Regions from separate parts of the Homo sapiens genome. Here regions 2, 3, 4 and 5 are each linked to region 1. Evidence: promoter capture Hi-C in 16 types of primary human blood cells and fetal thymus (Javierre and others, 2016). All regions are on one chromosome and are shown on one strand. Each heading gives the region's core, a stretch centred on a gene start or on the middle of the fragment in contact. The rest is flanking DNA. Distances are from core to core; before and after follow the strand shown.

Region 1 (4,887 bases), core at 1,838-4,337:
GTATGCCACAAACAAGCAGAAGTTCTTGCAGAAGGCTTGTAAAAGAGATTTAATTTATCTATTACAGGGATCACTATGATTAAACATATTCTTTAAACCCAAAGGTCACCTGCTAGGTTCCTGTGGTTGGCAGATAAGAGTATTTATGCAAAACTTTTTGATAGAAATCAAAGGTGAAACAGAAAGTTATTATTATCATAAGCAAACATTATCACTGGGCAAATCCAGTGCACGGAAAGTTACCTAGAAAGCTAGCTACCTAGAAGAGATGAGAATCTGCAACTTTAAGGTACTTGACTTAGTAATTCATACTGATCAGTATAAAGTTCAAGCTCCTTACTATAGCTTACAGGCCCTTTTATAATGTGGCATATTTTCATTACCTAATTTCCACTTATCTTTCCTGGATTCCCCTGAACCTGGGTTAGTTCCCCCTCCAATATTTTCTGACAGCAACTCTGTACTGTAATTATTCACTTGTTATCTTCTCCCGTTTAACTGTAAAATCTTTGGGGGGTAGGAAATCTGGCTTGTTCAATATTAATTCTCCTTACGTCTAGCACTCAGTAGGAACACAGTGAATAAAAAATGGAAAAATGTATAGACAATAAGCTACCATTCTCACTTATGGAAGACCTCAAGATATCTAAAGTATGCCCATTTACGCCAATCCTAGAGCTTCTGAATAACTAAAACTTCCTTTACCATAATGAAACACCATTTCTCAAGAAGGACTACTATTAAATATTTATCAAGCATCTATTATATACCAGGTCCTAGAACTACAGAAACAGATGGAATTCAGATTTTACTCTCAAATTGACTTATTCCACCCTTAAGCTTTAACAGAAATAACAACAACAAAAACTAAAACATTAAAAAATTCTATTAATAGCCTTTTTAAGAGTGGTGCAGTGGGAGGTAGGAAAGGAAGAGAAAGAAGTACAAAATCAGAAAGCTCTCTCTGATTAAATATGTCCAGCAATGTATTTAACCAAACAGTTAAGTCTTGCATGGATTATTTTCATCAAGATTAAGTCCATAATGAAATAATCATTGCCATCAAAACTGCTACCTCTGTGTAAACAGGCATAATTGAGCATTTCTCAAAATATTAATATATTCTAGAACCAAGAGGGTTGGGGGAGATGGGTTATCAAGGTCTTGGCTCTCTCTCCTAATATAACAGGGTACTGACATTAATTGAGAGGAAAACACCTAATTTGCCCTCCTGCAATCTCCAACTGTGGAGAATGTCAGGTAAATGTTTTAAATGCCATTCTGAACCCATTCTGAACTTCCTTTTACTAATTCAGTCTTTTATTCCCTTATCTTGACCTTATATCAGGAAATTATCCAACTCTAACATTTACACGTCAGAGAGAACAGGCACCACTTAACCTTATCAGAATATAATAGGTTCATATAAAAGATTTTATACTCTTGTCAGTCCCATGGCCAAATGCTGAGTAATGTCCACCTCCATGTTTTTCCTTTAATCTTTTTGTTCATGTTTTCTATGCCCATGCTTTTGAAGCTATCACTAGTGGTGATAGTGGCTGCCATCATAGGGAGGGCAGCTGTCTCAAGTTACTTTTCTTGAGGCCATCTATCAGCACCATAGTCTTGACCAATCCAACTCCAATTATTCTCAAATATCTGTCACAGTGAGATGGCATAGGTTCTATTTTAAATATGGAACATAATAAAACATTTAACCTGTAATGTAAAGTGAATGCCATAAAAATCTGTTTGGACTTTTGTAGTACGACTAGGTCAGAATTCACTTGTTAAAGAAATGCAGGTATCAGAACGGTCTAACCTTGCATTACTTGATTAATATGGTTTTCACTTCCGTCAACAGCTTCAGTTTAACATGCCATGGACTTTCCCCAATGTCATACAAACCAAAGCTTTGTAAATTAAATTATATTTTCTAACTAACATAAAAATTTCAGCATATGCTTGATTTCCAATCAATGTTGAACTGTTAAGTTTTCTAACTCAGACAAGTACAGCAGCTTCTCATTTTTTGAGACTGGCTCTGGCAGGAGCTCACTATTTAAAGAAATGCAACATGGAAGTATATTTCTACAATATGAATAGTGAGCCAACTTACTGTTCAAACCCCTAATGCTCTAATACTTGATTAAAAAAAAAACCTAATGCTCTGTACTTGATTTTAAAAAATAACAATAACATTTATTGATCACTTACTACATGGTCAGTCCTTCTGGCTGCTTTACATTGCATTTATTTTATTTAATCCTCACAACAGTAATAGTCCTCCTTGAGAAAATGTGTTTCATTATGGTAAAGGAATTTTAGTTATTCAGAAGCTCTAGGATTGGTGTAAATGGGCATACTTTAGATATCTTGAGGTCTTCCATAAGTGAGAATAGTAGCTTAATGTCTATACATTTTCCCTGTTTTACAGAAAGGGAAAATAGCAACAGGAAGGTTGAGTCACTTGTCCAAGATCACACAGTTCATAAGTGATGGAGCCAGAATTCCAACCCAGGGCGTCTGACTTCAGAGCCTAAAGCTCTCTCTTGTAAAACTGTGGAAGCTGATCACAGGCTGGAAAAGACTTCATATAAAAAACCTGGGCCCACCAAATATTTGTCAAGTTTTGTCCTGGCTGCTGAACCTAAAAATCTAAGGTAATCTTTCTCAAGTGTAAATTCGGGAAAACAATGACACTGATTTGGTGAGAAATTATTTGAGTTAATACATTTAGCAGGGACCTTGGAAGGCAGTAAGCCCTGGGAAAACTTTGTCTCTTGTCTTTGGCATCACCTCCGCGAAGCCTGGTGGGACGCGGCTGCCCCTGCGCTGTCTGTGCACCTCCTAAGAACCAGGAAGCGCGGTGACCTCCAAAGAACAGGACTGTCCCAAATCAAGCGGGATTACCACCGCCCCTCTCCCATTTAACAGCTGAGGACACTGAGGTCTAATGGATTCCAAGTACTTAAATAGGTGAGCGGCGCGCAGGGGCGAGTTGCAAGCCCTGGGATCCTTCCAGCTCGCCGCTTCCCCTCCCAGGGGCTCAGGTTTCTCTTTCATCTGTGAGGTCCTCTCCCGCCCGGACGCCGGGGCCCGCCATCCCCAACGTCCACCGCGAGCTCCCCAGATCCATGGTCTGGAGCAGGTCCAGAAGACGCACCTGGCAGGACGCCCCGGGCGCCACAGTCGCCCTCCACACGGGCCACCCCAATCCTGCCGCGGCTCCGTGGCTCTCCTTACCTTTACCTGAGGTGAAGCAAGGACGTGGAAGCAGCTACGGCGCGCTACCAAGCACCTCACACCGCTCTCAACAGTACTGCTCAGCCTCCCGGCCCGCCGATGCGCAGGCGACAGCAGCCAACTTGTAAGTCACCGCTGGTCGCAGCCAACTGGAAGGCACCCAGCGCCTCAGGGCAAGGCGGGCCGAGCCCCCAGCCCCGCCCCCTGGCCCGATCCCGGGGGCTCCGGGGAGGGGGGGCTGAGAGGAGGTGGCCGGAACAACGTGCGCTTGTTCGGATTGGCTGGCGCGGGAGCGTGTGGAGGGCTGATTGGTGGCCGATAAATGGAATGATTCCGCGTGGGTGTGGGCTGGCCCGAGCCGCGCCAGGGTTCCCTGGATGTCTGGGGTTGCCTGCAGGTTTGGATTGGTTGGGTTGGGTTGTCCTGTGATCACTTAATTGTGAAAGAATTTTGTCAAGCAGTAAACCGACTGGGAGAAATTGAAACAGAAGGCGAAGTGAAGGATCACAGTGAGGGATAAGGTCCAAATTCATCCCGCTTGTGGATATCCTAGTATCTCGCAACTACGCTACTCCTCCCAGGACTAAAAGTCAAATAAGAAAAAGCGCCCATGCAGAGGAGGACGAGCTCTCTGCCTCCTGCTTAGCCTGACTCAGAACTGAGAGAGCTGGGAAGGAAAATGCATATAAACGAAAGTCCCTGCCACTATGTGAATTGACCTTTAGCCAAATACGTTTGTGTGTGTGTGGGTGTGGGTGTGTGTGGGTGCGTGTGTGTGTTTCCATCCTCAGATAAAGAGTTTAGAGGGCAACCTTAGAAGCAGAGAAAAGGAGGAGGTGTGACAAGTGGATTTAGCAACTGCACAGTTTTGGAGTTTCCATCTACTCGAACATGAGAAAGATTTCTTCCAGTGGCTGTGAAGTCACCCATCTGATGGGATGCTTGGCAAACAGTGAATTTCTTCCTTTACCAGAGTAGCCATGATGCACTGATTAGCGAGGCTTGGTTTGTCTGCAAATTGCGTTTACTAAGATACGTAGTTTGAGAACCAAAAGCAGGGAAGAATGCAGTGCTACACCATTAGTGATTTCTGATAGACTTGCAATGAAAATAAATAATATTTCGTAAATTTTTAAGTCGGCCTCACCAAAAGAATTACCAAATACTACTTGCTAGTTATTATTGGCCGATTTATTTTTTACCTCCATCGTTTATATGTAAAATAATTTGTTTTATATTTATATTTATAATTTCGTGTGACATAATAGAAGAGTTCTTCGTGTGTTGTAAAGCTCCTTTCACTTAGGAATTATTGGCCAATTATTGAGGTGCTTTGGATGGATGGATGAATACGTAGATAAATAATTTGAAATGGTTGGGGAAAAGTGCTTTGTAATTAAGTTGTACCTACTTAATTCAATTACATTGAATCCTCTTAACAGCCCCCTAAGGTAGGTGTGTTTTACAGGCGAGGAGCCCCAGACATAAATCTTAAGGCAGGTTGCTTAATTACTGAGTGGAGAAACTGGAATTTGGCTGAGGTCTGCTGGACTCTGAAACTGGGCTCTTAGTCTCCATAAAATTCAGATGGTGCTTGGTAGCTCTTTGTCAAGGCACCTGTGAAGACCACTGGGACCATAA
Region 2 (5,407 bases), core at 1,625-4,124, 360 kb before region 1:
CATGGCACAAGGAGCCTGAAAGATAAGTAGAGTCTCAATTTCCAAGTCAAAGGAATCTTTGATTTTTCCCTGGTAGAAGCATTCCTCCCTTAGTGACCAAGATGTCCAAACTCAAAGAGCTCAAAGTTGAGAAGAAGGGAAACAAGAATTTTGAGAGAGGGTGATTAAATGTAATAGTGAAAGGAATCTCTCCTGGTTCTACCACCTGATTCTCAGATTCACACATTATGTCTATGGGAGAAACAGCATCAAGTATTGGTTGTTGATTCAAAGCATACACTGCCCTTTGTAAAATAATACCCATCCTTGCAGAATATTATCTCTCAACTGGCCTCATAACTGAGTCTTCAGTAAGCTCTTCCACCGTTATATCAGGTCACTTCCTTCTGTAGTATCAAGTTCTTGGTAAGACCAGTGAAATCCATGGGGGTGAGCCCATTGATGCTCTACTTCTGCCATGACATGAGTTTCTTGATTTGAAACAATATTGTGGGTATACCATGGCAATGAATAAAGCAACTCATAAGTTCATCCATAATGGTGCTGACAGACATATTGAAGGCAAGGAATACAAATGTATATCCAGAATATGAGTCTATTCTAGTGAGGACAAATTGCTGTCCTCACTTGTGATAACAAAGGTCCAGTGTAATCAACCTGCCATCAGGTGGCTGGCTGGTTCTCTCAGTGTGGAGGCTGAAGCAACTCCAACTTGAAAGCTAATCTGCTATGTTGGCTTCGATCAACCCCTGTTACAGTGAGGTTTCTAAGATTTCCAGTTATCTATTGTTCCTTGTGTAAGAGCAGGTAATTACCATAAATCCTGCACCTATGTCAAACAACCTTGATGTTATCATACTTGAATTGTCCTACACATGCCTTCTGAATGTGTAGGACACATTCCTTCCCTGTGGTATATAAACCCCTAGGTCTGGTGGGCAATGCATGGGGATCTACCAGCTTGTCTTGCTGCTTCCCAAGACACAGACATGTCTTCTGTTCCTAAGTCCCTATTAAATGTCTTCCTTTCCTTCCTTCTCTCTCTCTTTCTTTCTTTCTTTCCTTTCTTTCTTTCTTTTTTTTTTTCTTTTTGAGACAGGGTCTTATTCTGTCACCCAGGCTGGAGTGCAGTGGCAGGTTAATGGCTCTCTGCAGCTGCGACCTCCCAGGCTCAGGTGACCCTCCCACCTCAGCCTCCTGAGTAGCTAGGACCACAGGCATGCACAAGGATCCCCAGCTAATTTTTTGTATTTTTGTAGAGACAGGGTTTTGCCATGTTTCCCAGGTTGGTCTTGAACTCCTGGGCTTGGGTGATCCGCTCAGCTCTGCCTTCCAAAGTGCTAGGATGGCAGGCATGACCCACTGCACCTAGACAAATGCTTCTTTCTGAGAAACTGTATTTGTCAGCCCCTTTCTTTGGTCTCTCAGCTTCCTCACACTTTACAGTAGGTTTGCATAGACCTGCCCACCACAAAACAGTGAAGAAGGGCTGGAATATCAGGGGTTCAGCATTAGTCTGTCTTGTGCATAGGAAATGCACTCAGCAGTAGACAGACCAACTTATGCACTTTTTTTAAAAAAGGCTATGCATTACCTTCATCATTGCCACCATACCTATTTTGTATATGGACATTTCATGCAAGCACCAGGGTGTCTAGGGAAAGAGGCCTACTGATATCTACAAAATGTGTCATCTTGTCCACTTGATTATTGGAAGCTTCCTATGCAGAGGATGCCCTTTGGTGACACTCAGATGGAACACAAATACCCTCAACACTGATCCATTCTGAGAGTCACTGCTCTCAATTTATGCAATGATAAAAATTCACATATATTGTCTGCTTTAAAAAGCCCAGCATCAGAATTAGCCAAATGGATGAAGTCCAGGGGAGCTCTTGTCTGTGTATAGATGCAGTAGCTTTAAGCATTACTTCAGTTTTTAATTAATCCATGGTACTGCATATGCAATGTTCATGGGTTTCATTGATTGTTATCAGAATGGAGGAAGGTAGGATAATCATATTATATCAGAGACCTCAACCTCTCACATGTATAAAAGCCTTGACAGGAGCTATTAGAAAATGAATAGGACTTTATAACTTTAAAGGTATCTCAAATCTGCTAACATGCCCAACTTCCTCCTCTGACAGCTGACTAGTGTGATGATATATTTCTCCATCCTTGCTGTAATGCTGAGGACCCATGCAGTAAGCAACCACTTCCTACCTTGACTCTACCCTTCTCCTACGCCAGCAAAAGTACCATATCCCAGTACTACCATTCGATGAAGAGTCATACACTTCTAATGGGAAACAATAATTTAGCAGTACTTAAAAATCATTCAAATGTTTGAATTTCTTATTCTTCCCTAATGCTTGCAAAGATTTTGATATTTTCTACATAGTTATGATATTAGAGAAGCAAGTCACCTGATAGAATGGTAAAATAATTTACTGACAACTCCATTATGTTTCTGAGGAAGTCTTTACCTTAAAAGGAAATCAAAATTGTCCTTCCACATATGTGTTAGGCAAGCAGATCTCTAAGAACAAGTTAAGAAATAATCTTATCTCACAATTTACATTTATTTGATCTCATTTGGTCATTCCAAAAAAATTATCTCATTGAATTCTCCAATTACTTCAGAGAAGTGAAGTAGTTTGAAGGTGGTTTGGCCAAGATGTCTATCTAGTTATTGGTAGACAGACTTTCTGACTCCAAAGCCCATTCCACTTAAGGAAACTGGTACAGTATCATTAATAATAAACAAGACTATTTTTGAACATCATATAAACACTGGAGTATCCCATCTGGGGTTATTTAGTACTGGCAGGCTCTTCTTCTTCTCACTGGGGTAAGGTCTGTACTTGCACAGATAAATAAAATGTCCTATTAATTTTCTCATTAACTGGAGAACCCTTTTGCTGACACGTTACCTTCATAGAAAAGACTGTGAAAAATTCGCATCCAATTGCCTTCTAGACCTGTTCGTTTTGGAAGTGTATCAAAGAGCCTGGCTAATGGAGAGCAAGACTCATTAATTACTGGCTTTGATCTCCTATAGTGCCCAACACTCCTTACTATATTCAGGAATATTGAATTCTTTGGAAAATGACTTCCTGAGACCTATTCTTCACATTACTTCCAATGGAAAAAAATTGCAGCCAGCCAGAAATGGATTATTTGGCTACAGTCTGCTCAGTTTTCAAGAAGGTAATTGAAACTTCAGGATCCTTAACTTAGGGAAAGTGTTGGCAAGTCTGTCACCCACATCTGTGATAGCCCTTTATTTTCCTTTCTAACTTTTCTTCTTGAAGTTTAATTTACAAATATCACAATGTAATATTAAGTGTTCAGGTCAACAAAATTTGACAATGGTAAATATTCATGAAACTATCAAAGCATTTCCATCACCCCAGTATGTTCTCTTTTGCCCCTTTCTGGTCAGTTCCCCTACCCTCCACATACTCACCTCAGAAACAACCACTGCGTGGATTTTTTTAACTGCAGATTACTGTTGGCTGTTCTTGGACTTCATGTACATAACATTATATGGTGTGTAGTTTTTTTGTGTCTAGCTTTTTTCATTCAACATAATGTTTTCAGGTTCATCTATGTTGTTGTGTGTATTAGTAGTTGTATTAGTTTGTTCTCATATTGCTATAAAGAAATACCTTAGGGCCGGGCGCGGTGGCTCACGCCTGTAATACCAGCACTTTGGGAAGCCGAGGCGGGCGGATCACGAGGTCGGGAGATCGAGACCATCCTGGCTAACACGGTGAAACCCTGTCTCTACTAAAAATACAAAAAATTAGCTGGGCGTGGTGGCTGGCACCTGTAGTCCCAGCTACTTGGGAGGCTGAAGCAGGAGAATGGCATGAACCACAGCTGCTCATCAGGTTACCTGGCAAGTGACACTGTGGGTGGGGGGAGTTGTCCCTGGAATAGCTTGCCTGATGGTGTGCTTACAGGCTATCATGCATCAAAGTATTTCCTACATGCCACCAGAAACTGAGAGAAAGAATATTTCAAAAGCTTGGAACTACAAGCACATACTTCAGACAATTAATTTTATCTTTGTATTCCTTTGTAATGCCTTACATCTTTTATTAGCCTTTCTCTACAAATCATGTTGTGTAATTCTTAAGTCATCAGTAGTAATGACATTTATCTTCCTTTTGTAGGTTTAGACCTGCAAGTTTCAAACTGTAGGTTTTACGTCCTTTGCTTTCCCTTTCTTTCCTTCTTCCCTTTTTATGTCACCCTTTTTCTTTCTCTCTTTCCCTTCCTTCCTTCCTCCTTTCTTTCCTTCTTTCTCTTTCGTTTTCTTTCTTTCTTTTTCATTTCTTCCTCTCTTCTCTATTTTCTTCCTCTCTTTCTCCCATTATTTTCATTCTTTCTTTCCTTCCTTTCTTTTTCTTTTCTTTTCTTTTCCTTCCTTCCTTCTTTCTTTCCTTCCTTCCTTCCTTCTCTTTCTCTTTCTCTCCTCCTTCTCTTTATTTCTGTTGGCTTTCCTTGCTGCTCTTTCTACATGGTTGATTTTTAAATGTTTTAAGGTGGTTTGATGGGATAAGTAAGTATAGCAAAATAGTATTTATGAAAATAGGTGAAAAAGAAAAATGGAAATCATGAGTGGAAAGATAAGCTGTAACTAGGAATGGGGCTGTTACAATACTGCACATCACAGAGACTTCCTGGCTAAAGACGAGCTCCAAACTTAGTTCTAAGCCATCTTGCAGTTAACATAAAAAGGGAAAACTGATCAGTCACCATATCCCCAGCTCTTGAGCACATTGCTGATTTTAACAAAATTGGGATTCCATTAATAAGAAATAAAAGGAGAAAGTTTATTGGGTAAAAAACTAGTGGCTTCTACCACATTCTACCCCTTTGGCTTTGTAATATTCATACACACTCTTCCTCTCATAAATAGACTACCTTCTCCAGCTTCTCCCTGAGAAATACCACACCATTGTCTCATCCAGTTATTTCATTCACTTCAAAGATAGGATCTTTTGTAATGTGCTTTCTGATTTTCATCAGGTCTCGAAGTGGCTCCTCATTATCTGTCGAGCAATAAGGTTAAAGGGAGGTTATAAGTCTTTGTTTGAAAAAAGGAAGAACAAGAAACATAGCAGGCACTGGCCCACATTAGCACATATCAACCAATTATTGCCAGGCAGGAACAATAAGGACTCCCTACTCTAGCAGTGAAATAAATTTCTTGGCTAGCCAAATTTGCTAGGGTCCTGTTGTTTATTACTCTCTGTGGCCACTCAAAAAGAGACACGGAGAGGATAACCTTTCAGGACTGCACAGCTTCCACAACTCATTTCTGTGGGTGAAATGTGGGGGCTCCGTTATTTCTTTATTAATTGATTAATCATTTGATGTTGGATATTTCTTT
Region 3 (4,996 bases), core at 1,746-4,245, 440 kb before region 1:
GAAGGTTAATATGCTTAAGCACATTGAGAATTCATTGAATATCTATTACATGTAGTACAGAAGACAGCCCTATTGTGGTTATGATGATGACCATAAGCTTAAGAAAAACTGGCTTTCATGATGAATTTGTGTGTGGTAGAGCTTGTCATAGTCTACCCCTTGTAGTGGCAGTTTAGAAGCTCAAAACTCACTTTTGAGATCAATTGTTATAATTCTCCAGTTTTTAGTAATGCTTTTCTATAGCCTTCCCTGCACCTGATTCTAACCGCCCTATTCCTTTGCTCCATTCTCTTGTCTCACCTTGACTGTTTTTTTACCTTTTGACACCAATGTATTTATTGCAAATCACTTCAAATGCTACTGGAAAGGTAAATAGTGAACAAATGAACTGCTATAAAACATTACCTACTTTTAAAGAACTCGCAATCTAATAGAGAGATAAGGTTGAAAAACATTATTGAAATGTTAAGTAATCTATAGAAGCCATAGAAAGAAGTCCAAAATAGATACGGCTTACAGGATAATGAGGTCACATCCTGGTAGGAGACCACTTTTGGAGACATCAAATAAGATGAACATGGCAAGACATGAAAATCTAACATCTCAGATTGGGAAGAAAACAGCTCAGAGCATGTTTAGAGCATATTACCTTCAGATACTGTTTGCTGGAAGCCTAGGAAAATGAAGGAAATAGGGCTGGAAAGACAGCTTGGAGCCAACGCAGGAGGGATAATTGTAATCTCAAAACAACCTTGAGTAGGTTGTTTTGCCATAACTTTTTGAGCAGACAAGTAATATAATCCAGGTGATCTAAGAGGTCACATAATTACAGATAAGGAAATTGGGGGCAAAAGGAACAAGTGTTTAGCAATGTTTTAACAGACAAAGAGACACCTGGGATGCCTTAGAAAGAGATACCCTGCCTACCTCATCTGAACAAAGACTCTACATAGATCATAGACACAAGGGGTTTTTAAAAGAGGAAACAAAAAAAGGGAGGCAGCCTGGTTATACCTCCAGAAGAATGCAAGTCGAAGCTCAGTGTAGGCTGCTTTCTGTTGTTCTTGCCCCCATCAGCAATCAAGAGATGAAGCCGAAGGTTCTAGTGGGCACTCACACTCTCTGGCCCTACAGCAAGCCACTAGAGGGGAAGGCATGTCAGGTGAGGGTGACAGAAGCAGCCACCATGCCCTTTCCTTTGTCTCTTGGAGCTATCCCAGCCCAGTGAAGAAATCTAAGTTTAGCTCCTGTCTGCCTATATAATAATGTCCAGCTGCCGACCAGAATAATCTCTGATGTCACAATAGATTAATCAGGTTTTGGCATCATCCCACAATACCCTGAGAAGTTGGTGATGGGGGAAGAGTGGACTTTTTTTTCAAAGAATGCTGTGGTGACTCGAGTACAACACATGAAGAATTCCAGAAAAGAGCCATTTTTGAAGTCAGCGGTGAATCAGAGGTTTTCTGACCCTCTCGAGTGCCTTCTATGAAGAAGAGTTCAACTCTGGCTCCAGTTTGTCCCCTACTCTTTTCCCGAATCCCTCGACATTCCTTGCTCTTTTCCCCAGGCACCGCATGGCCTGTGACATTTGCTGGGACTCACACACGGCGTCCAACCTCCTTTCTCCGAGCGATGACTCCTAGGAACTTCCCAAGGACCAGAGCGATGCAGGCTCCGACACGCGAGGGCGGGGGGCGGGGGTGAGGGGTGCGATGGACGGGGGAGCGGAAGGGAAAGAGAGAGAGAGGGGACCTGGGTGTAGAGAGGGCCCAGGGCCGCATGAGCCAAGCCAGGGAGGAGCAGGGGGTTCATCTCAGCAACCTGATCGGTGTCGGCCTTTCCCTCCCTTCAACCCTCCATTGGTGTTGCTGGAACTGGGAAGACTGCTAGACAGACATCCTCTAGGGCACTCTCCCTGACTCACTTTGCTGTGCTTTTAAGCGCTCTTTTCTGGATCAACAAGAGTTTGCTAGTAAAAATCTGAGCCCGCCATCTCGATGCTTCTCCTGTCTCTAAAACTGGTGCCCGGGCTGAGGCCCCAGGTGACAGACGTTTTCCAGTCTACGCTGCGCGGGGCTAAGCCTCTGCGAGGCAGAGCGCACTAAAGCGTGCGCCGCCTCCGGGAGAGCTGAGCTCAGGACAGCATCGTCTCCGTGCGGTCGCCGCTGGGCACCCAGCAGCGCGGTCTGGCTCCGCTTCTTGTGTCGCTGGCCTTAAGAGTGGGACTGTGAAGGTGGCTGGGCGCTGGAATTTGTGGTTTTAAAAGTTCTTGACACCTGCTAGAAAGTGCTAGAGGACTCTTCAGCCCCTAAGGTGCCCCTAGCCACCAAGAGTAGGCGTTTTTCCTGAAATTGATATGGGAAATTTGAAAAGTAGGGTTTTTGAGAACAAGCCACATCAGATCTTTCCCCACTTATTTCAACCTCTTATCGTTCCTGCCCCTAAGGTTCTGGTCACGGTTGCACATTTAATGCTTTCACATGGAAGTGCTGTCGAAGACTGAGACTGCACCCCACCCTCCAAAGCATCCCATAAGCAAGCACAGTTTCTTACTAGCCAAGGAGAAGGGAAAGCACTAGTTGAAAGTGGCCACAGGAAATGCTCAAAGATGTTCAGAATGCATGGGACATATGCAAGGACTCCAAATCCTTACAGTGGCTGCTGGTTTCAGAAGGTGTTTCTCCCAAATAGAAAGGATTGGTCACGGAAATGCCCTGTAGGAGAAAGACACTGGTATCCGTTTCTTAAAGGACATTCACACTTATGAAGTGTTTAGGGCAAAGCAAAAAGGAGGAAGGTGAGGGAAATTCCTGATGACTTTACTGATGTTAAAATTCCATAGATTTAGCTACTCCTTTTTTTTTTTCCTTTCACATCATCAATTCAGAATTCTATAAAGGAAGAGAATGACATGGTAGAAAATCATTGGCCTAGGAGAAAAGAGCCCGTAGGCGTTTAGGTGTTATATAGTGCAGCCAGAAAGCTCTGGAGCATCAGGGAGACTCCAACTTAAGGCAACAGCATGGGTGAATAAGGGCTTCCTGTGGACTGGCAATGAGAGGCAAAACCTGGTGCTTGAGCACTGGCCCCTAAGGCAGGCCTTACAGATCTCTTACACTCGTGGTGGGAAGAGTTTAGTGTGAAACTGGGGTGGAATTGGGTGTCCACGTATGTTCCCTTTTGCCTTACTATATGTTCTGTCAGTTTCTTTCAGGAAAATCTTCATCTTACAACTTGTAGGGCTGGTGTTAACTTACGACTTCACTAACTGTGACTTTGAGAAGATTAAAGCAGCCTATCTCAGTACTATTTCTAAAGACCTGATTACATATATGAGTGGGGTAAGTGAAGAAGCTTTTTTAAAACAAATGTATTTTCATCAGAGGAGTCGGCATACACACACTCTACAATTTAACTTTGTAGGAAAGAAAAATAATTTAGAAAAAATCATGGCCCCACATTTTGTCAAGGATTCTTACAAGTGATATTCAAATATCTAATCTAAAATGATTATCTAGAAATTGGCACATTCTAAGTGTGCAGATGCTGATGAGGAGCAGGTATTGATAGACAGCGCGTTATGCGTCAAAGGATGTCTATCCTTTGCTAAAGTGTTACTCTGACTATGCTGTAAAAAGCAGGAGGTAAGAGCTTAAGAAAGAGGAGTAAAAGAGATAATTCTCATGAGATAAACTCTAAGGATTGATGCTGTGCTCCAGGTCTCTCCAGTGTTTTAGATGTTTCAGGATGCTATTTATTACAGAATATGGTGTACTTGGAATTTTTTTTAACATACAGTAGTAATCATTTTCCTGATTAACCTAATTTCTAGACAGAGTTTGCATTCATGAATGGCCACAGTACAGATGCGGACATCCAAAGGATGGCATTATTACTCACAAGCATAGTGCTATGTGCAGTTATGGCTTGAGGGAAGGGAGGGGGGAGGTCGCCCTCTGAGACCTGAACCTTTTGGTGTGGTTTCAAGCACTAACCAGCACTATCTAATGGCTATTTCACTGCCTTGTCAATGACATAGGAAAAAGGTACCTGAGTGGAAACTGTTTTCAGGGCACCTTTAAAGCCTGGGAGCAAAGGGTGGAGGGATGATTTTCCTTGTGGACTTAAAAGTCTTTACCCTCTTTGTCCTATTTTTCTTTCTTCCAGACCAAAAGTACCGAGTTCAACAACACCGTCTCTTGTAGCAATCGGGTGAGTAGAGAGTTCAGTGCTGCTGGCTTTCTCCAGGGAGACGCCAGGCATTTTGGAGAGGGAGTATCCTGCTACGTGCAGAACTCCGAGAGGTGCCTGGGCTCCGGGACGCCGCCGCCGGGGGAAAGGGGACATCTGGGCTGTCAGAGCGGGGCTGCGCCTAGCTTGGGACAACACTTCTGTTCCAATTTAGGGAGAGGAAGTCTCTATCCGGAGGAAAGGCAAATTGGGAACTGGGACGAGGGAACGTTGTTAGGGGCACCACCTGCTGGGGTCCGGCGCCTCCGCGCTCGGGCTCGGAATTTTGGCAGCCTCCGCCCCCTGGAGACTTGGGAGGAGCGAGCGTGGGTGACAGTCTTTTCGCGACGAGTGCCCTCCGCCACCCTCGCCACGCCCCTGCTCCCCCGCGGTTGGTTCTTCCTTGCTCTACTCAACCCTGACCTCTTCTCTCTGACTCTCGACTTGTGTTCCCCGCTCCTCCCTGACCTTCCTCCCCTCCCCTTTCACTCAATTCTCACCAACTCTTTCTCTCTCTGGTGTTTTCTCCTTTTCTCGTAAACTTTGCCGCCTATGAGCAGCCACATTGCCTTACTGAAATCCAGAGCCTAACCTTCAATCCCACCGCCGGCTGCGCGTCGCTCGCCAAAGAAATGTTCGCCATGAAAACTAAGGCTGCCTTAGCTATCTGGTGCCCAGGCTATTCGGAAACTCAGGTAAGCCCGAAGCCTCAGACGTTTGCTGTACCTTGGGGCTAACCTCAAATTAAACTGGGGCTTTGGTG
Region 4 (4,849 bases), core at 1,587-4,086, 270 kb after region 1:
GTTTAAAACATTTGATGATTTACTGTCAGTAAGTATGAGGTGAATAGCCTCAAACCCTGCCAGGAGCAGTATGTACCAGTTGAAACACTTTGGAGAGCAATTTGGTCATATAGACTCACATTAAAAATAAGCATATCCTTGGGTCAAGTAAATTCATGTCATAATTTTTCCTCTAGATAAACTTGTATATGTGCAAGATAATTTATGTCAAGGGGTATTATTTGGAGCATATTTTGTTCCAAGCAAATGTTTGAAAATAACTTTCATCTTTATTAAGAGTGGGCTAGTTTAAATACATGATGGGAATACTAATGTAATGCTATGCAGCTGTTAAAAAGAATGATCAAAATTGGAACATCTATTTTGGAAAACTGTTTAGCAATGTTCACTAAAGCTAAACATACACCTACCTATTGCATGACCCCAGCTGCTCCTAGGTGTATGAGAAATAAATGCATATATCCACCAAAAGACATGCGCAAGTCTGTTCATTGCAGATTTTTTCAAAATAGCCCTTAACTGGAAACATTCCATATGTCCATCAACAAGAGAATGAATAAATAGTCGTCGATTCATACAATGGAATAATAGACAACAACAAAAAGAATAAGCTGATGGAAACATCAGTTTACACTACAACATGGAAAATCACTCTGACATGTTGAAGGAAAGAAGGAAGATACAAATGTGGTTTCATTTATGTGAAGCTCCAAAACAGGCAAAACTAACTGTAGTGATAGAAGTTAGACTAGAGATTTGCCCTGGGGCATGGAAGACCATTCTAAAGTGATGGAAATATTCTATATCATGATCTGAATGGTGTTTACAAAGGTATATAAATATATAAAATTGGTCATGTGTTACCTTATGATATACTTAAGATTGGTGCACTATATACACTTTCTAATTTAGGTTATACCTCAATGAAAAAGTAAAGAAGGAAAAATAAGAAAAAGGATGAGGAGGAGGAGGAGGAAGGAGGTGGAGGAGGAGGAGGAAGGAGGTGGAGGAGGAGGAGGAGGAAGAAGAGGAGAGCAGCTATATATGTACCCATATAAATAATCTCCAAGCTAGATTGTTAAGTGAAAGTATTTCTCAACTAGAGTTCCTCATTTGAACCACAGCTCACAGAACCATTATTTGTAACTATTTCCTCAATTCTTCTATGGATGGTACATAATTAATATCATTCCTGATGCCTAGAAGAAAAGCCAATTTATTACATACAATGGATGACTTAGAGTATGAGAATTTAATTCTCGCAAGGAACTCTCACTGAGAATGTTTATGTTTGCTACAGTGTGTGGTGTGGGTGTGTGTGTGAGTGTGTGTGTGTGTGTGTGTGTTTTAAGTACGTATTTATTATGAGAATCTAACAGTAGTTGTCTCTGGAGAGGAAACCGGGTAGCTCACTTTTCAGTGTGTGACCTATGTTACAATTTAAATTGTGTACTGCGTGCATGTAAAAACACACAAATTTCTCCCTAAATGATACATTGGGAATGTTAGAGAGGTGAGACATCTAGGAGTAAATACGACAATGCTTCAGTGTAGTTGCACATTAACCATTATGTGTATATTTGTGGTATTCAGTAACAAGAGTGTTTTGAGCTCAATTTTTAAGTCCAAAATGCTGTTTATGTAACTTTGAGTGATCTAAGGAAGAAAAAGCAACGTTTTTGAGGGCATGGTGCATAGTTTAAGACTGGCAAAGTTCTAGAAATTATAGGTGTGGAGAAAACAAGGGAAATGTATCACAGTTATACTTTGTATAACTAAAGTATGGCCAGGTCCCAATTGTATTCTCCTAGTAGGTCCCATCACTTTCCCCATCTAGTCCAATTGTGCTCTGATTGCCTGTGTGATGGCTCACATGAAATAGGTTGCTGATTGAGATAAATAGGGTATGGGAGGTCCAGGAATTTCATTGTTTTGCTGGTAATTTGAAATGTTAAACAGCAAAATATCAAAACAACTTCTCTGTTTTGCCTGTACGTAGAACAAGCTAAAGAAAGCCCAAGAAACTGATACCTGGTGGCAGAAATCATAGGATTTAGTACAGAACAATTTAATGCATACACACAGGCACACATCAGAAGTGGGAGTGGTCTTGTCAAGCAGAGGCAAGTTGCTTGCCAATCTCCAGCCAGCACATCAAACTCTTCATATGCTAAGAGAATTGCCCTAGAATATCCAGATACATTTGTAATAATGCAGATAACAAAAATTACTGCTACAAGTGGTCTGAGATTTATTGACAACATCAATGCACGTGCCAAGTGCTTTATATGCATCATAGTGTTAAATGTCCACAACATCCCATTGAGGTAAATAATGTTGTCATCCTCACTACGAGTGAGGAAACAGAGGCTCACTGGGTTTAAGTAGTGTGCTTAACAGTTAGTGAGTGTGGGGCCTACTTCTTGTCCTCTAAACCATGTCCTTTTTGTCTATTTCATGGCCAATTGTCAGTAGTATGAATTCCTTATATAAAGAGTTATACATGAAGCTTTACATGGAGTCAAAGTCCTTATTTAATTGTGATGTAGGCTTTTCCCACACTCCATTACATTTCTTAATTTGCTAATGTATTTCACTCCATTTCTTGGAATGGGCACATATTTTTCAGTATTGCTTTACAAGTTTGTTTGTGTTTGTTTGTTTGGCTGTGAGGCCCTAAAAAGCAGAGATTTCTTCAGAAAGTTGACAAACAGCATATTCTTTAACATCTTGCAAAGCTCTCCTATGAAGCCCCCTCAAATAAAATTCACTATACAGAGGTTACTACATGTAAAATATCTTCAGAGATACTTCAACAGCATACGATGATTTTTTAAGCAAGTTCTTTGGTTACCAAGGATAAGAAGTTCACCATGACATTTCATTCAGTACTAAAGTATGTTTTATTTTTTTAATGGTCCTCGAATATCATAGAAGAACATCTTGTAGCAACCTTTACGTTGCAATCATACTTTATTGAAACTCCTTGATATATGAGTCTTCCCTACTTAACATATATACCCAAAAAAGAGTACATAAACTTATTTGAAAATTTATTTGAAATATATGAAAAGAAATTAAAATACATTCCTATTTTTCTTTCTCCCATCCCATGTAGAATAATTTCTGTTCACTTGGCTACAAACTAGCTGATGCATTAAGATAAGCTTATTGCTGTGTTGTTGGGCTATCTCAGCAAGCCAGAAAGCAAGGGGTGCATCCAGACCTCCTAAGGGGTTGGAAGCAGGAACTAGATGGCTTTCTGGAACTTCACTTCTTTTCCCAGCTCTAGACGCCAGTGTGCATCCTGTCACACAGCTCTGCACCTGCTTTGTGCTTCTGTCTCTGCCGGGAGGTTTGCTCTGCTCTGCTCAGACTATTTTAGCTACTGTCTGTTAGTCTTAGCTCATTGCCCCAGGAAAACAATCTAATTGGATTAGTTACCATGATTCATTTAGCCATAAACAGGTATGTGATGTCACATGTGCCCTCCCATTCACTGGAGCTATGAGAACCAGGAGGAGAGGCTTAGGTCAAACTCTCCAAGAAAGGGGGTAAGGGCAGTAGTGAGGACATGACTGTGGAGAAACAAGTGGGAATTTGTATTATGGCTTGCCCGTGAGAACCAATATTCTTCCAGAATCTGGCTAGAGACTATTCAGAGAGTATATCTTTCATATTTAGATGTTTCTATAAAGGCTTCTCCTGGGTCAATCCATTTCTGAAAGTTTATAGGACTTAACAGTAGGCTTTGGAAAGGCAACTCAATCAGATGCTGAATTGTACAGTATGAGAGAGGACAAGAACATAGCTTACCTATTAAATGGGTACTTGAGGGCTCTCTCTTGATTAAATTGTGATTTTTTATTATTTTTATTTTTGCCTCAGAAGTTCTGTTCTTAGGCATATTCATAATGTCTGAGGCTGAGGCTTTCCCTGAATGCTTTGGAAATCAGAGATGGAAAACTTAAGTGGATAGTGCTGGCCGTGATCCAATGCACGCTAGTGCAATGCAGAGGGGGAAATTGTCATTTTAAACCACAACTGAACAGAGCAACTTCTGCCTTCCCGTGGAGAACACGGGGGTGGGAATGGGGCATAATTTATTTAATTGGAGGAATAAATCTCTTCACTGTTCCTTTCTCTTGCAGAAAGAGATGGAGTAGGAAGCAAGAGTGACCCTCAGATTTAGATGGCATTTGGTTTAGCAGAATACATTAGTGGGACTTTGGATTTAAAAAGAGTCTATGCACTGAGTATGGTGTATGGAGATTTAGCAGAGCTAAACTGAATTATTTTGCATAAGAAAATGAAAGGTATTTAAAGTTTTTGCTACTGTGAGAGAAGAGGCAGATAAGAAAATAGAGGGAAACAGGGAGAGAGGAAAGCTCTGGAACACAGGAAAGAGTCATAGAGCTTTTTAAATTAGGGGTTTTCAATATTCTAAGTTATTTGGCTACAATGTAAATCCCACTCATTGCTGCAAACATCAGTCAAGTCAGTGTAACCGACTTGAAGGAGTATTTTTATTTGCTAGTATATGTTTGGTGGGGAGTGTATTTCATTGTGTATGTAAATCATGGAAGGAGACTGGATTTCAAATCTTGTTTTGAGTGGTAGAGAATAGGGAAATAATATGAAGCACAGTTAGACAATTCACTAATGAAACTAACAGAAAAAGCAGGAGCTAATAGTCATAGGTGATTTGGAAATCTTTTAAATCCTCACTATTGCTTTTTGCAGCAATTTCTACATTGCAAAGAAGGCCACGCCAATATATAACCCCTATCCCATATGCTCTTTTTCCAATGTGAAGTTGACACATTGCCATCAAGAAATAGAGTCTATG
Region 5 (5,365 bases), core at 134-2,633, 430 kb after region 1:
TACTTTAGAGCAATCAGCATTTTTTCCCAGACATTACAGTCTGGGAAATCCTCATTATTTGTGGATTCCATATTTGGGAAGTTGCCTACTCACTTAAATTTATTTGTAACCCTGAAATCAGTATTTGCAGCATGTCTGTGATCATTAGTGGTCATTAGCACAGTGTGGCAAAAAAAAATTCGAGTTGCCGCACGTGCAAGTGCACAGCTGAGGTCAAACAAGGCAATATTCTACCTCTTTGTTTCAGCTCTTACCGTAAACAAGTGTCCTTTTCATGATCTATTTAGTACCACGTTATTTGAATTTTTGTGCTTTTTGTTGGTGATTTTGCTGTTTAAAATGGTCCCCAAGTGTAATACAGAAACTCTATCTAGTGTTCCTGAGCACAAGAGGGCTGCTATGTGCCTTATGGAGAAAATGGATAAGCTTCATCCATGCTGTTGGCCATGAGTCCAAAGTTAATGAATCAATGATACATATTAAATACGTTATCTTTAAAAAGAAACACATATAAGACAAGGTTATGTTTTGATCAGCTGACAAAAATACTGTTATCACAGGCTTATAGGAATCTGACTCTTTATTTCCTGTGGGAGTAATCATTCAATGTTCAATTAACTTGGCGTTCATGGAAACTTTACAGATTTACAGTGAAGAAGAAGAATCAAGTGTACATCCCAATCTGAATTACTGCATTCAAAGAAAAATTACCACTGCTAGCCACTCTACAAGAATAGCACAGTAAGTTGTCAAAACAAAACTATTCCTTCAATTTACTCCTTACATAAAGGGAAACACTGTGATAGCCTTTTGTGATAAATAAAGATGCCTAATATACCTTACCTGAAAAAAGACTACGAAATACCAAAAACAAAATATAGTTTAAGGATAGGGATAAAAGATAAAACAAAAACAGTTCTTGAAATACTGTTCCCTCTCTTTTCTACCTACTGATTATCAAAGTACAGTTCAGAAGACAACCAGGAAGTTGTTGCCTTCTCTCTGCTACTCCAAACTACAGCAGACATGAAGTCGTACTGGCAAGGAGATCAAAGTGTCTGTCTGTCTGCCATGTTCCAGGTCCACAGAAAGAGAATTCAGTAGACACATATCTCCCATCCCTTCCAACTGGCAAAAACGTTGGAGAGAAGAGCTAAAGTAGGCATGCCTTTCTCTACCACACACCACTCATCACCCAACTACTCTGTCCTAGTGGAGGGGAGTCACAATTATAGGGATGGGCCCCGACTCTGAAGACAGAGAAGAGAGGCAGGTGACCTCATGCAAACATTAGGAGTACCCAGGTCCACCCTCACTTCTGAAACCTAATGCAAGTTTGGAGTTGCCCAAGGCCACTCTCACTTCTGGTACTCACTGCAAGTTTGAGGGTCCCTGAGACCACACTCATGCCCCAAAATTCACTAGAAGGACTCAGAGGACACAATAAAACCATTATACTTTTGGTTATAGTACAGTGAAAGGATACAGATTAAAAATCAGCCAAAGGGAGAGGCACATAGGGCAAGGTCGAGATTTCTGGGTATGGATATGTCATATAATGTCTTCAATAAGTCTTCAGTAAAATCCACAAAGTACATTTATGTTTTATAAAACACATTTCTTTTTTGGGGTAGGGAGCAAACCCTGATTCTTGCTTTAAGGTTGTTGCTGGGAGAAACCACAGAATAACTATGGGATCCCAGAAATCTCTGGGTTACCAAGAAATAAATGGACATCAAACTTTTCTTTCACAAAGGAATTGTAAATAGGCATTCAATTGCAAAGGAAGAAACTGATGAAGATCATATGGGAAGTTATTAATCAGTCATTTTTCTGGTTATTTAATTATCTTGTTATAATCTAGAGTATAAAACCTGGGTGAAAGCCCAACATCACACCTTTTTGTTTTAGTTTGCTCAAGCTGCCATTACAAAGTACCACAGACTGAGTGGCTTACACAACAGAAATTTATTTCTTATAGTTCTGGAGGCTACAATTCCAAGATCAAGGTGTCAGCAGAATTGATTTCTTCTGAGGCCTCTCTCATTGGCTTGTAGATGGCTGTCTTCTCCACATCTTCACATGGTCTTTCCTCTGTACCTGTTTGTGTCCTCCTCTGCGCACTGTAAACAGTGTGCAGTAAACTGCACTGTAACAGGCTCTGTAAACAGCCTGTCTCCAAATAGAGTCACATTCTGAAGTATTAGGGGGTTAGGATTTTAACATATAAATTTTGGGGATGACATAGTTCTGCTCCTAACACTTTTACATTTGATGAATGCAAGCCTATTATTAATATTAGCATTTCAGACAGGACATCTAGGAATGGGATTGATAATAAAAGCTTCAATGTTTCTGGACCAGAGCATGCCATATCTGTTTTAAAACCAATTGAGAGGCTGACCTAACATAATCCCACCAAAGGAATGTAAATCTACATTCTGTTATCCTCTAAATAGATTCTAGCTTATTTACAACTATGTCTTCCTTCCTAGACATGTCTATGTGTTATATCACCACAATAATATACTCACTACTTCTTAGCCTGCATTTTTAACACCGTGTGTGGACTCTGAATTAGATTTTTGGTAAATTCAGTACAACATTTTGTAGGATAGCAGAACTAATTTTTGTTTTGTTTTGCTTTTGTGGTAAGAGTACTTGTCTCAAAGATCGATTCCATGAGACATCATTTTATTACCATAAAAACAGTTATATTAACTTAGCTTCACAAAAGTTATTTTCTTATGGTAACCATCTTAGCAAACATTGTTAGCCAGGATTTAATTGCTATTTGTTAATAAAATTTCAATCCTGATGCTTACCATAAAATGTTTATATTTTTTAATATTTTTATTTCGAATGACACCAAATAACACTAAAATAAAAATGATTCATATTCTGAATTTTCTCACTTAAAAAAATCTCATGAGAGTCGCCTTTCCATCTGAAAAGTGAAAGTCATGGTCACATGTGATGCAGTCATTGCTTTGGTTCCCTGGTGCGGCTTAAAAACAGTCCCTAAAATAGGCGCTTTTGCTCTTCCTGGTGTCTTGCCTGCATCATACTAACTACATCTGCAACATTGCAGGTGTCTTTTTTTCATTGCAAAGCAGTTTGTGCTATCAAATAGCAGCAAGTGTGACTCAAGACTGAAAATCAGGGACAGGGTACAAAATAATTGCAAAGAAATCTGAAATGATATAGAAGTTGATATTCTTCTTTAAAGACTTCTAAAGCACTAGTTTTAAAAAAAAACAGCATCAGATAATGATACTAAAAAACCCTTGAAAATAGAGTTTTATACTCCAGATTTGGTCAAAATATTTTACTGTCATCACCCATATAATTAAGAGGCTGTACATAAAAGAGATTAAGAACATGGACTCAAAAGTCAGAATGCCTGAGGTCAAATCCTGTATTCATCTCATAGTAGTAGTCAACACTAGGCAAGTTACTGGAACTGTCCATTTCTCAGTTTCCTTGACTGTAAAATGTGACTAAGTCTAGTAATTATATTGTAAGGCTGTTTTGAAACTGAATCAGTTAAAGCACTAAGAACAGCATCTGGCACTAGGCAGCACTCAATAAATGGGGTTAAAAGTATTATCCTCTCCCCTTTCTCCCCTTTGATCTCCTATACATATGTGGCTCCCATCTCATCACTGCTGTCTCCTGTAGTCCTCTTTCCTTTTTTCCATTTTCAGCTTTCTAGGCAGCTATGACAACTGGCTCCTCTTTTGCATCTCCACTCTGTCCTCTGGCAAGTTCAATATTATATGAATAAAGCTGCCTGCTATTAGTCATTTCCATATTAATAATAGCTAACATTTTTGAGCATTCATCAGGTGCCGGTTATGCTGCCTATTGTGAAACACATTGAACTCCCTATACATCTTCTTGCCTGAACTCTCATAGGCACATACTGCCTTGATTTTCCTTGCCTTCTCTGTCTTGCTCTTAAATGCTGGGCTTCCTTGGCATTCCTTCCCCAGCCCTTTCTCATTCTATACACATTTCCCTGGGTGGTGAAGAGTCCATGTCATCAATTACAAACCAAATGATTACTCTTAAACCTATATCTCTAGCTTGAACTTCTACCCTGAGCTCCAGAACTTTGTATTATAGATGGGCACTGAAATCTCAACTTCGATGTCCCACTGCACTGCGAAGCCAGTGCAGACAAATCTGAATTCATTTTCATGCTGAAGCTATGCCTCTTTTTACATTTCTGTCTGAGGAAATACCCCTACCTCAATGGGTTAAATGCTGGATTTGCAGTGGTAAACAGCAAAAGCATAGGCTCTGCCCTCATGGAGCTTAGAGGGCATCCTCTTTCTAACTGGAGGATATAGTAGAGGAAACAAATAAATAAGCCATACTTAATTTTCTGTTTTGTGAATTGTTTCTTTGGATTTTTCCGATTAGCTCTTTATAAAACTGACAAACTCCTGGTCATATTTTGCTGCATATACTCTGTTCAGCAACTTACGTTTTTTGCATTCAAGAAAATTGTGATTTTTATGTGATCAACTCTAATGAGCTTTCCTTTTATGAGGTTTTCTATCGCTTCAAAGCTTAGAAATGTTTCTTCTATTGAGAGAGCTGATGAATATTCAAATTTGTACCCTAGTTTAATTTGTTTATGTTTCATTCTATCCCACCTAGAATTTGTTTTGATGAGATATCAGTGAAGTTTTATTTATGAAAATTTCCAAAAGTCTTCTTAGTATATTGGATGAGGGATGCCTACATGACATTCTCTTTTATTGCTGTAACATTTGAGACCACCAATTTTTGTTTTGAAATTTAAATCTTCCTTGGTTTATCAGTACAATTGTTAGGTTTCTTCCTACTTTTCGAACTTTGACACTTCTCTCCTGTACCTATTTTCTCATTCCTCTTTGTTCTTCCTCCATTTTTTTCTTTTTTGAGACAAGGTCTTGCTCTGTCACCCAAGTTAGAGTGCAGTGGTACAATCTTGGCTTACTGCAGCCTCAACCTCCTGGGCTCAGGCAATCCCTCCACCTAAGACTCCCAGGCAGCTGGGACCATAGGCATGTACCACCATGCCTGAATAATTTTTGTATTTTTTGTAGAGATGACGTCTTGCCATGTTGCCCAAGGTGGTCTTGAACTCCTGAGCTCAAGCAGTCCACAGCCTTGGGCTCCCAAAGTGCTGGGATTACAGGCATGGGCCATGACAACCAGCCTTCTTCTCTTTCCAATTTTATTTGTTTCCCACAGCTAAATTCTTGAATATCTGTTCTTAACTTGATTGGTTCTCTCTTGACTCAATTCTGGCCCACAGTATCAAAGATCACTTTGATTAGGATGACTTCAAGATTGGTATTTTCAGCAATGA

What was found. The method cuts DNA at HindIII sites, captures the fragments that hold promoters and counts their contacts. A CHiCAGO score of 5 or more calls a contact.
Region 2: a fragment that was not itself captured here is called in contact with the fragment with the promoter of STARD4-AS1 in region 1 in 1 of 17 cell types (non-activated CD4 T cells); the score reaches 5.5 in non-activated CD4 T cells.
Region 3: a contact is called between the fragment with the promoter of TSLP here and the fragment with the promoter of STARD4-AS1 in region 1, in 4 of 17 cell types (non-activated CD4 T cells, activated CD4 T cells, naive CD4 T cells and 1 more). The highest score is 8.4, in non-activated CD4 T cells.
Region 4: a contact is called between a fragment that was not itself captured here and the fragment with the promoter of STARD4-AS1 in region 1, in 3 of 17 cell types (megakaryocytes, M1 macrophages and monocytes). The highest score is 6.4, in megakaryocytes.
Region 5: a fragment that was not itself captured here is called in contact with the fragment with the promoter of STARD4-AS1 in region 1 in 1 of 17 cell types (monocytes); the score reaches 5.1 in monocytes.

Annotation. Positions count from the first base shown.
Region 1 is chr5:111,509,139-111,514,025 of GRCh38, forward strand. It overlaps STARD4-AS1 (STARD4 antisense RNA 1), which reads left to right and starts at 3,088. Exons shown (of 7, transcript NR_040093.1): 1 at 3,088-3,370. STARD4 (StAR related lipid transfer domain containing 4) reads right to left here and starts at 3,397. Exons shown (of 6, transcript NM_139164.3): 1 at 3,247-3,397. RefSeq lists enhancers at 46-165, 3,032-3,241, 3,722-3,861 and a silencer at 3,272-3,641. The HindIII fragment of the contact is 3,364 bases long and covers 1,912-4,887 here.
Region 2 is chr5:111,147,859-111,153,265 of GRCh38, forward strand. No RefSeq gene overlaps it. Among named protein-coding and RNA genes, the nearest start is that of WDR36, 58 kb to the left of the region's middle. The HindIII fragment of the contact is 2,318 bases long and covers 1,716-4,033 here.
Region 3 is chr5:111,068,718-111,073,713 of GRCh38, forward strand. It overlaps TSLP (thymic stromal lymphopoietin), which reads left to right and starts at 2,996. Exons shown (of 4, transcript NM_033035.5): 1 at 2,996-3,344; 2 at 4,171-4,215; 3 at 4,794-4,928. The coding sequence starts at 3,174. The HindIII fragment of the contact is 3,260 bases long and covers 96-3,355 here.
Region 4 is chr5:111,776,032-111,780,880 of GRCh38, forward strand. It overlaps a transcript of NREP not described here. Among named protein-coding and RNA genes, the nearest start is that of NREP, 21 kb to the left of the region's middle. The HindIII fragment of the contact is 658 bases long and covers 2,508-3,165 here.
Region 5 is chr5:111,939,394-111,944,758 of GRCh38, forward strand. NREP-AS1 (NREP antisense RNA 1) reads left to right here. Exons shown (of 4, transcript NR_046678.1): 2 at 644-741. It also overlaps a transcript of NREP not described here. Among named protein-coding and RNA genes, the nearest start is that of NREP-AS1, 30 kb to the left of the region's middle. The HindIII fragment of the contact is 1,918 bases long and covers 425-2,342 here.